Linked DNA regions of Homo sapiens: regions 1, 2 and 3 are each linked to region 4. The links are contacts of gene promoters, found by promoter capture Hi-C in blood cells and fetal thymus (Javierre and others, 2016). All regions are on one chromosome and are shown on one strand. The core of a region is centred on a gene start or on the middle of the fragment in contact, and the rest is flanking DNA. Distances in the headings are between cores, read along the strand shown.

What was found. The method cuts DNA at HindIII sites, captures the fragments that hold promoters and counts their contacts. A CHiCAGO score of 5 or more calls a contact.
Region 1: a contact is called between a fragment that was not itself captured here and the fragment with the promoter of PATL1 in region 4, in 3 of 17 cell types (total CD8 T cells, activated CD4 T cells and fetal thymus). The highest score is 5.6, in total CD8 T cells.
Region 2: a contact is called between the fragment with the promoter of MPEG1 here and the fragment with the promoter of PATL1 in region 4, in 1 of 17 cell types (M1 macrophages). The highest score is 5.2, in M1 macrophages.
Region 3: a fragment that was not itself captured here is called in contact with the fragment with the promoter of PATL1 in region 4 in 3 of 17 cell types (M2 macrophages, M0 macrophages and non-activated CD4 T cells); the score reaches 7.0 in M2 macrophages.

Annotation. Positions count from the first base shown.
Region 1 is chr11:59,166,381-59,169,471 of GRCh38, forward strand. No RefSeq gene overlaps it. Among named protein-coding and RNA genes, the nearest start is that of DTX4, 4.2 kb to the right of the region's middle. The HindIII fragment of the contact is 2,567 bases long and covers 410-2,976 here.
Region 2 is chr11:59,210,992-59,214,263 of GRCh38, forward strand. It overlaps MPEG1 (macrophage expressed 1), which reads right to left and starts at 1,936. Exons shown (of 1, transcript NM_001039396.2): 1 at 1-1,936. The coding sequence starts at 1,874. RefSeq lists an enhancer at 1,913-2,112. The HindIII fragment of the contact is 5,135 bases long and covers 1,922-3,272 here.
Region 3 is chr11:59,184,942-59,187,802 of GRCh38, forward strand. The region is part of intron 2 of DTX4 (deltex E3 ubiquitin ligase 4); the gene reads left to right. It overlaps LOC124902675 (a long non-coding RNA gene), which reads right to left. Exons shown (of 4, transcript XR_007062682.1): 2 at 1,749-1,940. Among named protein-coding and RNA genes, the nearest start is that of DTX4, 14 kb to the left of the region's middle. RefSeq lists a silencer at 1,494-1,583. The HindIII fragment of the contact is 7,574 bases long and covers 1-2,861 here.
Region 4 is chr11:59,667,221-59,670,307 of GRCh38, forward strand. PATL1 (PAT1 homolog 1, processing body mRNA decay factor) reads right to left here and starts at 1,817. Exons shown (of 19, transcript NM_152716.3): 1 at 1,661-1,817. The coding sequence starts at 1,675. PATL1-DT (PATL1 divergent transcript) reads left to right here and starts at 2,090. Exons shown (of 4, transcript NR_187296.1): 1 at 2,090-2,322. RefSeq lists a silencer at 1,547-1,896 and enhancers at 1,856-2,150, 2,077-2,366. The HindIII fragment of the contact is 2,400 bases long and covers 198-2,597 here.

The DNA.
Region 1 (3,091 bases), core at 443-2,942, 500 kb before region 4:
AAATTTGGTAAGTTGTATTTTATCAAATTAAAAAACTTTTGTTTTGTGAAAGACGCTATGAAGAGCATGGAAAACATAAGCTACAGATTGAGAAAAAATATTTTCAAACTATATATCCACCAAGAGTATTTATTTATTTATTTATTTGAGACTAGGATTCACTCTGTTGCCCAGGCTGGAGTGCAACATCACCATCACAGCTCACTGCAGCCTCAACCTCCCAGACTCAAGCGATCCTCCCACCTCAGCCTCACAAGTAGGTGAAACCACAAGCCTGCACCACCGCGGCCAGCTAATTTTTGTATTTTTTGTAGAGACAGGGTTTCCCCATGTTGCCCATGCTGATCTCCAGCTCTTGAGCTCAGGCAATCGAACTCCTGACTGGGCTTCCCAAAGTGCTAGGATTACAAGCTTGAGCCACTGTGCCCAGCCCAATATTTAGAATATAAAAAGAACTCTCTAATTTCAATAATAGAAAACAGAAACCAGCAAAAGACCTGAACAGATATCAAAGAGCATATATGGCAAATAAACGCATGGAAAGATGTTCAACATTATTAGTCAATAAGGAAACAAGTTAAAAACAATGAAATAACTCTACACACTTACCAAAATGGCTAAAATAAAATATACTGACCAAAAAATGATGGTGAAGATGTAGTGACCAGATCATGGGTATATTGCTGGTGAAAATTCAAAATGGTGCAGCCACTTTAGAAAACTGGCAGTTTGTTAAAAAAGCTAAACATGCAACTACCCTATGACCTTGCCATTGTACTCCTAGGCATTTATCACAGAGAAATGGATACTTTACCTTCACACAAAAACCTGGATGAGAGTGTTCATAGTAGCTTTATTCATAATAGCCCAAACTAGAAACAACTTATATGAACTTCCATGGATGAACAGTAAGGTGGTCCATGGATACTATGGAACACTACTTAGCAATAAAAAGAAACAAACTTCTCTTGATACACACAACTTGGATGAATCTTTAGAGAATTAAGCTGAGTGGAAAAAGCCTATCTTAAAAGATTGAATGCTCTATGATCCATTTGCATAATATTCTTGAAATGACAAAATCATAAATATGGAGAACATATTAGTTATTGCCAGGAGTTATGGACAGGATGGTAGTGGGGAGGAATTAGTGGGTGTGACCTTTTAGGGCAACATGAGAAATCCTTGTGGTGTGGAAAATGTATATTGTATACAAAATGTGTATTGTATAATGTGTGACACAATGGTATTATATCAATAATGGAGCAGAATTGTAACCATTCTGTATCTTAACTGTGTCAATATCAGCAATGGTATTGCACTATAGTTTTCCTATAGTTTTATGGGATGTTGAGGATACACAGGCTCTGTCTGTTTCTTATAACTGCATGTGAATTTAAATTATTTTAAAATAAAAAATTAAAATGCAATGCATCTTCTGCCTGGCTTTTTCTCTTGCCTCTCGTTTATTTGGAAACTAACTTCTGTGTTGTGAGAATGCCCATCAATCACATGGACAGGCCATGTGTAGGTACTTGGGCTGATAGCCCTAGTTGAGTGCCCAGATAACAGCCAGTATCAAGCAGTAGACTTATGAATGAGCAAACCTACAGATGATTCCAGCCACCTGCTTTCCTGAGAGCTCCCTTGAGCTAATGCTGTGTGTAGCAAAGACCAGCTGTCCTTGGAAGCCCTCCCCAAAGTGCAGATGTGTTTGAAAAATAAACGCTTGCTGCTGTTTTTAGCCACCAGTTTTAGGGTGCTTTATTACATAATAATAGGTAATTGAAAAAAAAAAGGGCTTTGTCTATGAACATTCCACAGAAAAAGAAGAGAAGCGGCTTTTTCACTGAATCTTTGTGTTAGACAATGACGACCTTTTTTGAAGTATCATCAAATTGTACCTTTGAACAGTTCAAAACTGGCTTCATAGTCTCAATTAGTGAGGTTTTATTATAGCCATCATATGTTCAAATTAAAAATTTGGCATATCATTTGGTTAAAGATTTTTATGCCACTTATGAGTACAGGAGACAATTTGGGAGATATAGTTTGGATACTAAAATGGAATGTCGGCCAGGCACGGTGGCTCATGCCTGTAATCCCAGCACTTTGGGAGGCCAAGGCGGGCGGATCACCTGAGTCCGGAGTTCGAGACCAGCCTGGCCAACATGGTGAAACCCCATCTCTACTAAAACTACAAAAATTAGCCGGGCCTGGTCACAGGCACCTGTAATCCTAGCTACTGGGGAGGCTGAGGCAGGAGAATCGCTTGAACCTGGGAGGAGGAGGTTGCAGTGAGCCGAGATCATGCCATTGCACTCCAGCCTAGGGGACAAGAGCAAGATTTTGTCTCAAAAAATAAATAAATAAATAAAATGGAATTTCTGAGATTTTCAGGGTTTATGGTACAGATTATTTGAAATTAGGATTGTGTTAGAAGATCTAAGAAATGTATATACATATATAATAATTATTTATACATAATTATAAATTATTATTTCTAATTGGGTCATGATAAACTATAAATTATCATGGATTATTAAAATACAAATATTTTACATCTATAATTTACTATTAATGTCAAGTCATACACACACAAACACGAGGGGACTTCCAAAAGTTTGTGAAAAATAAAATTAAAAAACAAAATAAAAAATGTACACTTTATTTCTCAACATAAGCACCATCAAGTTCAAGATATTTTGTAGGTGATGATATGAATCATTTAGTCCATCACTAAAGAACTGAGTGTCCTGGGACCCTAACCATATCAATGCAGTTTTACTTTACTATAGAAAAACAGATGCTCTTTAAAAAATTTTTTAAGATTAGGAAACAAAAAGAAGTCAGAGGAGCCAAATCAGGACTGTACAGCAGATTAAAAGATTTTCCATCAAATTGCTCACAAAAGTGCGTTTGTTTGATGAGAGGAATGAGCATGAACATTGCCATGGTGGAGAACGACTCTGGTGAAGCTTTCCCAGGTATTTTATCCTAAAGCTGTTGCTAATTTTTGCAAAATACTCTCATATTAGGCAGATGTTATTGTTCTCTGGCCCTCCAGAAAGTCAGTAAGTAAAATGCCTTG
Region 2 (3,272 bases), core at 686-3,185, 460 kb before region 4:
GAGTCTTTAATCCAGGATCTCGCATTCTCAGAATTGGTCACTATGACAGTATTGGTGGCAGCCTGACTCATGAGGGGTGGCCGGGTGAAAGGTGGGAGCCTGGCAGGGGGCAGGGACCCTCCTGTGAAGAGCCCGGATTTGACGCAATAGGACACTTGGCATCCATCGCTGATGAGGGCTGGGTGCTGGCTGAAGCCCCCGGGGCACTTTTTCAGAGACGGTGCCCCTAAATCTCTGGATATAGCAGGATCTACCAGGGGGTTCCCAACTGTGCAGCTAAAGAACCCGCCAAAGGGGACCGCAAACCTGCTTCCCAACTCATAGTCCTGAGAAACACATACCTTGAGGTTTTCAAAGAGTCTCAGTGGAAAGTAGCCGGCTGGGCATGACTGTGCATTTGTCATGGGGTTTATGCTCTTGCTGCTGAAGAGGCCCCCAAAAAGCAGTCCTGAGTTTTCAGGTACTTGGCTGCTGGCCACACACCAAAAAGCCCTAAATTCAGCTTTTGCCACCTGGAACACATCTTCACACACGGTCTTGCAGAAGACGAGGAGAGTGCACTTTCGATGACACTCCAGGTGGTTGTAACCCTCCTCGTGGATCTGGGATAACAGGTGCACCGGGGAGTAGCCAGAGGGGCAGGAGAAATCACCAGTGAGTGGATTCTTCTGCTCCAACTTTTGGCAGAGGAGGACATCCCTATTCCCTGAGAGCTGAGTGCATTCCTGATAAACCCCACCGAAAGAGAAGTTGGTCATTTTCCCCTCGCAGGAGCCATCATCCGTGTTGGCCTGAAAATTGAAGTTGGGAGAATTGAGATCTGTGCAGCCAGGGTAGGTGTTGAATGTATAATAGCGCTTCACAGCAGTTTCCACTGTCTTTGACACCTTCTTCACCAGGGGGCCTGGCAAGTCAGGTAGCATGTTGGGGTTGATGAAGAAATGCAGCGGCAGGCCAGAGCGGTCGATGGCCACCAGGTGGTTGGTGATACCCTGCTGCCAGGCCTGGAGGGTGATGCCTGGGTAAAAAGGAACCCCTCCAATGCTCTGCACCCTGGAGTTGGTTCGGTTTGAGAGGTAGCTCTTGGTGAGGACATTCTGCGAGGTATAGTTTTCCTCAAATTTGAAGTTCACGGTGTTTTGAAAGGCAAGTCCAGCAGAGGCGGTCACGGCACTACGACTGCTCTGGCTGTCTTGGAGGAAGGAGGCCCTGAGGTGGTCCTCCTGAATAAGAGCAGCCCCAGCGTCGACACTGGTGGTGACGTGGGTGCCATAGTTGAGCACCAGGAGTTCTGCCAGGTAGGTGGCCATCCTCGTCTGGTTGTTCTCTAGACGGTCAGAGATGTCAAGGAGTTCCTTCCTAAAACCTGAGCTTAGCTCTAAAGTTGGGTTGATTTTGACTGTGTAGACGAGGTTTCTTACCTGAACTCGGGTAGTTATAGCTTGGTCCTTCACTTGGAGGGTCTTCATCCTCTGGAACTCAGTGGAAAACTTGCCATTGACTTTGGAAAAAAGAGAGAGTTCTGTGTTGATGGAGTAGGAGGTGCTACTCTGGTAATTTGCCCAGGATTCCAGGATTTCTGAGTTCATCTCCAGGTTGCTCTGTTTCTGGGGAATGGTGAAGATTTCATCAGGGATGATATACTGTCCATCCTCTGTTGTCCTGCAGTTGGAGTAAGTCAATTCCATAACTCGTCCCATGTCCACATTCCGCAGATTGTCCCAGCCCCCTCCAGGTAGGACTTCCAGGACAGGTAGTTTCAAGGCATTCTTGCATTTTTGAACTCCAACTTCGTCCATCTCTCCCGAAGGCTTGCCTGATTTAGCCCATGCTGCCGCTGCCCAGAAGAGGATGGTGGCCCTGAAGTTGTTCATGGCTCAGACAGCCCCAGCCACTCACCAGCCCTACACAGCGGCCAGCAAGCTTTGGGCAAACTAAGATGGAGAAAACAGAAGCAGATGATGAAGCGGAAAACTCATGAGTTCTCTAAAAGCTACAAGTTCCTCTTTAAGCTAATTTAATGACAAAATGGGGAAACGAGAGTTGGTTGGAATATTAAAGACCATCAGGTCTTTGAAGAATTTATGCCGTACTAAACATGCAAACACACCCCTACATGCCTAACAGGTAGCTATCCTAATTTTTCCCCCAGCTCTGGCTGGTTACTCTGCTGCAGGGGTGTGCACTTAGAAAAAAATCCCGACCCCACACCCTACTGCTTCCTCCACCAGAAAGTTTGGCTTTGCTTTTTGCTCATTCTCTTGGACTTGATGTTTCATATTTTCCCTGACTGCTGTCTCTTGGGACTCCATTATCAGTTTTCTTTTACTATAAATGCAGAGGCAAATGACCACACCACCCTTACTGAAACACCCTGGCTCCACCATACCTATGCAAGCTGTTAGTCAAGGCCAACCCTGGGTTTCCTCTTTGCCTGAGGGTGGAGGCTGTTTCCACAAAAGAAAGGAGTGAAACTCTTGGACACTTGTCCTGTGGGTTTCACTGTTATGAACCATAGCAATTCTGTCTTTGGGGATGGCATTGTCTGGAGCACAGCTGACAGGGCCTGAAGAGGATTCGGTTGCAATATGCTGGGAAACCCCAATTTGCATTGTCCTAAGCATTCAAAGCGAGGGCAAGGAACTCCTACACTGTGTTGTTTTCATTCAGATAGAAATGTTCAAGACAAAACCACACTATTATCTAGATTTTGATTTATCAACAGCAGACAGGGGCCAAGGAACATATGTGTATGTGTACACACATTTATATATCCTCTGTGTGTGTGCATTTTGTATGAAGTTGGTACCTGTTATACCTTTAATTTTTTGTTCCATTGCTAAGTGTGTGTAATCAGTTTAGGTGGATAAAAAAGAATGTGGCTCTTCACTACCCAATATTTTTTCTAAAAGCAAAAATTCATTTGCTATATCATTAGAAGAATATAATTACATGAGTTTCTTTTCAAGTTCCAATGCCAGCTCTATTAGAGCCCATAATTTAAAACAATGGTGACAGGTTTGATTGAAACCCAACTCTGTTAATTCTTTGGGACAATTAGGCTATGTCTTAGTATGCTTAGTGGTAGCCAGGGAATCCAGAGGACTTAGTGAAGCTCCCAGTTGCATCCTTAACATTCCCAAGATTATACCATGAACTAGATACAGTACTGAGACTGAAAAAGTCATGTTGCAATTCACAGGTATCACTACACCATCACCTGTATGCATCCTGGAAGGAAGGTTCCAAGGAGTTGAATTCCTCTGTTGGTT
Region 3 (2,861 bases), core at 154-2,653, 480 kb before region 4:
ATTGCCATCGACCTTCTGTCATTGCAGGGCCCCTTTCCCCCTCCTCTCTCTGCCCATGACCTCTTCCAGCAACTTTCCCACGGAAAAAGGAAGACCAGGGAGGGCGGGAGGAGTGGGATGAAGAGAAAGGTTTGGGGGCAGGAACAAAAGATCCTGTGAATTATTCAGAGACAGAAGCAGGGGTTTTCTAAAGGGAAGCAAGAAGGGGGCTGTGCAGTGGAGGCAAGCGTCACCCCTCTAGCCCCCTCCTCTAGAGCTGAGGATTCTCTGTCTCCAGCTAGGCCTCAGTTGCCGTAGAGACAAGATCCTTGTCCTGCTGGAGGATTCCTGGACTGGTGCATAACTCCGAGAAAAACACTGCTTCTCATCATGGTGACTGCAGAGATATACTCCCTCCCTCAAAACTCCTTTCTCTGCCACCTTGCCAGCTCTCTTCTCTTGTCTTAGTTTTATGTTTTAGCGACAGAAACAAAAGACCCTCCATATCAGGGAACAGGCCAACTGAATGGGGGCAGGGGGTGTCTTATGATTGGCCAAGCAGTGGTTAGGACAGACAGTTTTGGCTGATGGAGTTGCCTGAAGGATGTGAGATGCATGCCTGCCATTGGGTTGCAGTTTTCTAGGAGAGCTCAGGCTTTTGAAGCTGAGGCCCCAAAAGGGTGTGACCAGCTGGGACTTCATGGGCTGTTCTCCAAGGTTTAACCAGTAATAGTGGGGGAGGTGAGATCAACCGTCTCAAGTACTGCCCAGCACTCAACTTTATGCTGGATACCCATGACCTCGAGAATCAGAAAATTGGAATATTAGAGCAGAAAACGTCTTTATTCAGCCCAATGCCCCTTTTATACTTGGGAGGTAAAAGCATAAACAGTCACCCAAACTTGCACAGGGCTCAGCTGTTTACAGTTAGTTGACCTAGTTCCTAAATCCTCACAGGGACCCCATGGGGCAGACATTTAGGATGCCCTGTTCACGGCTGTGGTAACTTAGATATGGTCAACAGAACGCAGAGAGGCTGTGCGGCTCTCCCAAAGGCAAAGCAGGTCAGTGCTGAGCGGGGCTAAAACAAAGACTCCCTGACTCCAGTGCAGAGCTCCTTCCATTACACGGTTCTGGATTTCACAAGCAAATATACCCCTTCTCCCCAGACCCCTCCTTCCCAGAGCCCAGTGACAAGCCTACCCGCCATGTCATTCCTCTCCTCAAGTGGCAGGGACATGTATCTCTCCCACCTGTTGAACCCATAGTCTTCTTGTGTGTCCCAGGTCCACATGCGGGCCCTTCCCTCCCTCTCTCCACATCTTGCCCCTGAGTTCTTGAGCTGCCTGAAATGTGTGGTGTTCTGGGGATTGGATTATTTCCTGGTTGGCCAGATTGGGTGTGGAAACCTGCCAGTCCAGTTTATGGGAACAAAGGTGGCTTTTGTCACCCAGATCACAGCTACTTATCAGCTGGAGTGGGGGCTCTGAAGATGGCGAGGGAGAAGGTAGGTGCAGGTCTGGGTTCTGAGTGCTGCCCCCTGCTGGGGAGCTGGGAGCAGGACACAGGAAGCCGGGTCTTTTCCCCAAACCTCTCCAGAAAGAGCTGGGCGAGGAGAATCGGCCATAAGTGGAGGACTCAGGGCTTGGGTGGCCATTTTTTTCTCAGATATTGGTGGGAAGTTGTCAGCCAGTTTCCGTAGCGTCTTCTAACCCAAGACCCTCACAGTTTTACAGATGGGGAAATTGAGGCTCAGAAAAGTTAACTACCTTAGCGAGAAACTCCTGGCAGGGATGGGACTTGCACCTGATTTTCCTGACTGCCCATCCACCATACCATGCCTGGCCCTGGGGAGCAGGTCACAGAGTCCAGAAACAAGTCCATTCTTCTTTTCTTGGCCCAGTGGCCCTTGTTTTGTATTCAGCTTTCTCCTCCATCCTCCCATCCTGGTTTGATTTATCCTGGGGACAGTTTCAGAAGAAAAGCGGCTTTGGGTGGCCTGGTGAGACACAAACATTCCCATTCCCACATCTGTTCTTTCACATCCATCTCCCAGCATTGGTGCACATGTCATCATCCCTGGGAAGGGACAGAGCCCCAGGCAGGCTCAAAGTAGGTTAGAGCTGGGGAAGAACCTTCCTTACAGGCATGAGGGGCAGAGACAGACCCCACTGCTTGGCATGGAGGTCCCGTTGCAGCTTTCCCCATTCCTAGTGGTGGGTTTATTCATTACGCTCTCTGAGTTTCTGGTCTATGTTTGCAGTGTGGGATGTTATAAGGATTACGTAAACACAAGAGCCTGGCATAGTAAATGGGCTCTGGTGCCAGATTTTCTGGCTTAGCTGTGTGATCTTACCAAGTTTCCTTAACCTCTCTGTGCCTCAATGTAGTTGTCTCTAAAATGGTGTTAATGACTGCACCTCTTGCATAGGATGTTGGAAGGATCAGACAGGTTTATATGCTGTGAGCAGTTGGAGCCACTGTTGGGGGGAGGTGAGCTCTGTGCATGTTGGTAACTGTAACATGTGAGTGAAGAAGGGCCATGAGCCATGTGTTCACTGCTGACCCCCAGCATCGGGAATAGCAAACAACACAAAGTAGGGCTCAATAAACACTTTTTGGATGGATAAATCAATACATAAATATTCTTTTTTTCCTCCTCTTGCTTTCCCAGCACCATCCTGCCCCCACAGCAGAGCTGTTGGCTTTGCAGGCTGTCTGCCTCCTGGAGTCATCTGTGACCGGGTCCATTAGCCTCTCCAAGCCCAGCTGCAGGAGTGTGGGTGACAGAGAGGATGGCGCAAGACCCAGACCCATGTGTCCCATATTTTCCAAGTCAGCGCTGTGGGAGGGCCGCGCCTTTCCCAGGCAGCTGTGCCATC
Region 4 (3,087 bases), core at 567-3,066:
TCAAGAATCCACGAACAGCAGTTCCTCATGCAACCAAGAAATTAAGCCCACAACTTTCCTTACATCACTGGTTGGAATACTGATGACAATTAATAATGAACCCTTTATTTTCTTGTATCTTTATGTATCTTTTCCAGCAAAATTCTCATCTTTCTCATTATATTCATGTCATCTTTTCAACTATTATTCCGTTTTAAAGCTTTGTCTTCATTTTCCATCTTTCTTATCTTCCCTATAGGCCTAAACTCTAGTGATGAAACAGAAAATTAGGTCTTCAACCACAATAAAATGAACTCTGGAAAAGCTGTGGTATGACAAGTTCAAGTTCTGGCTCCATTCCTACAATCAGTGTGAACATGGGCAACTCAGAAAATTTCTAATTAATTCATCAAATACCTTTTAAGGACCTATTGCGTCTAAGGTTCTGTGCTAGGCTGTAAGGCTCAATGTCTTACATTGTAATGCAGGGACAATACCAACTATGGCAGAGAGTTGTGATGATCAAAGTGGGCAAAGATTACAGATTATCGAACAAAGGCTAGAGGCCACCACATCCTAGGTGTGTTCTATTTTCCCCCTTTACTTCAATCTTACTCAACTGATTTATTCTCCAAGTTTTCCTTTTGGTTTGGTCTTAGATCATTCCTATCAAGTATACCTGTCCTCAATTTTCAAAAATTCAGAATCAGAATTCCATATTCTATCAGTAGGTACGTTTGTGATACACCTTGCCTGGCTACCTCTTAGCTACCCTGTTTACAATGGAAAGATTAGGTCAAAGGGCGTTCTTCTTACCCCAGAGCCCTTCCAAACTCATGCCAATAGGCATGCCACTGCCTCCTTATCAGAGGCAACTTCCAGCAGTACTCCCTTCCAAATCACAAATATCTACTTTACCAAATCGCTGCTTTTTTAAATTAAAAATTCTTAAGGATCATTTACATCAGTTCTTTCATGCTACAAATTCAGAAAGTTTACGTCCAGAGATTAGGAGTCACTCAAGGTCACACAGTGAGTTGGTGACAGGGTCAGTACTGTCTGCTGCTATTGCTACATTCCCGGCACCTTCTCCAAACCCGCGTCTCCCAGCACTAGCCCAGAAGGAACTTCTGCAGGACACGCCCCCCTCCCAACTCGGAGCCCTCTTTAGTAAACGGGCTGGGGCCCTAATCCAACGGCAAGCCCAGGCCCCCTTCACCTGAAGGTAGCCTGTGTGAATGGGATGTGTGTCAGTGTAATTCGAGTGGAGGTGGGTGGGGGGTGGTTCCGGGTCCAGGGCGGGAAACGCGGCTCTGGGAATTCCCGGGTGACACCTACTTAAGAAAAGCACCCGGGGAGATGCAGTGCTCTACCCTCCGTGGCTCCTCTAGGGGTGGGGGCGGGGGTGTGGTCTGGTTACAGCACTTAACGGGCCCTCCCCACCCCAAAACGGAGGCCAACTTTCCCCAGCGGCAACTAATGGGACTGTCTCGACCCATGAAGCCAGCTCCCAGCCCTAGGATTAGACCCGCGACCCCAGACCAGTCGCGTCCAGCTAAGTCCTGCGACTCCCCCAGCCCGCCCCCTGCCCCGCAGGAACACAGGACCGGCGCGCGGAGAGAGAGTGAGGGAGAGGGGCGCGGGAGGGAGGGAGGGGTCACTTCCGGTCGCAACAGCTCACCTCGTAGCGGAACATTCTTGGGGAGGGGGGCAGGGAGCGGGGAGGGGAGAGGGGGAGGGAGGGAAGAAGCGCTGACTCCCCGGCTCCTCCGCGCGCGGGTCCTCCACCGGCTCGCGACCCCTGGCCGCCGCCGTACGCCGGAGCGTGCGTGGGGACGTGCGCAGGCGCGCCTCAGGCAGGGCGGCCACCCCGCTCGGCGCCCGGCGGCGGCGGCTGCGCAGGGACAGATTTGGCGTCCCGCTTCCTAGTCTCAGCGGCGGGAAGGAGGTCCCGTGGCGAGAGACTGCGCACGCGCTGCCCGTCTTCGGCTGCCTGGTGATCTGGGCTTGTAGCTCCGCCCCCTCTTTCTCCGCGCCCTCTAGGCGCTCGGCTTGGAGCTCAGGGGCCGGTCACGAGTTCTCCGTCACCCGTGGGGCGGAGAAAACCCTTGTGATTGTCACAGGATATAGCTTTGAAGAATCCTGCGCTTAGCCTGGGCTGGGAAAGATGAGATTCCCGGGCAGTTTTTCCAACGTCCGACTCACTCCTCAGGCTGCTCGGGGGTCTCCCCGTTGCAATCTGCGCCTTGCGCAGGGAAAAAAGAATGGAAAGTTGCTGGTCTTCGAAAGGGGCGGACTTCGTCGCCACTTTCAGCGGCTCGTCGCCTGCTGAATCCACAGCAGGTCAGGGCTGTGATTTATGTGGCTCAAAGTGATGACGGCGCCCGTTTTTTTTTTTTTTTTTTTTGAAATGCTGAAGACAGGTTCCGGGAGGTTTAACTAGGGTGGTATTTTTAAGCGCCAGGCTCATTAGGCGCGAGGAGCTGCAGAGCCTCGAAGGGCCGCACGGCCGTGGGCCGCTGGCCACGCAGCAGCAGGGTCTTCGGGCCGTGGTGCGCCGCTGGGTGACTCCACTTCCTTAGAGGATCGAACCCACAGAGGAATGTGTCCAGCTTAGAAGCTTCGGCCCCCTGGTTCCAGAATTCTGTTGGGTGGTTTGTTACCTCTAGCACGCTCCATGCCCTTCTTGCCCCTTTCCTTTCAGACAAAACTTGCAGCACAAAGAATGAATTCTTTTGGGTTTCGCAATCCGTTTCTTCCCTGGGCGTCTTAAAATGCAGCCTCGTCTCGGAATGGCATACAGTAAATCCCCTAAATGTTAGTGTGTCTGGATCAGTTTGAGTATCGGAAACGCTGAATTTGTGAAGAAAAGTTCTGGGTGGGAGCTTGTGCTTTGCCACTGGCTAGGAAACTTTGGGCAACTTACCTAAACCTCTCTGAGCCTTAGTTTCTTGTAAAATGGGTATAATTACACCTGCCTCATGATGGTAACACTACTAACGATTGAAGGCTGCCTGGGACTCTGCTAGGCGCTTTATAAAATGGATTATCTCATTGAATCCTTCCTTATGTGCCCCCCATGAGGTAGGTACTGTTATTTTCTCAGTT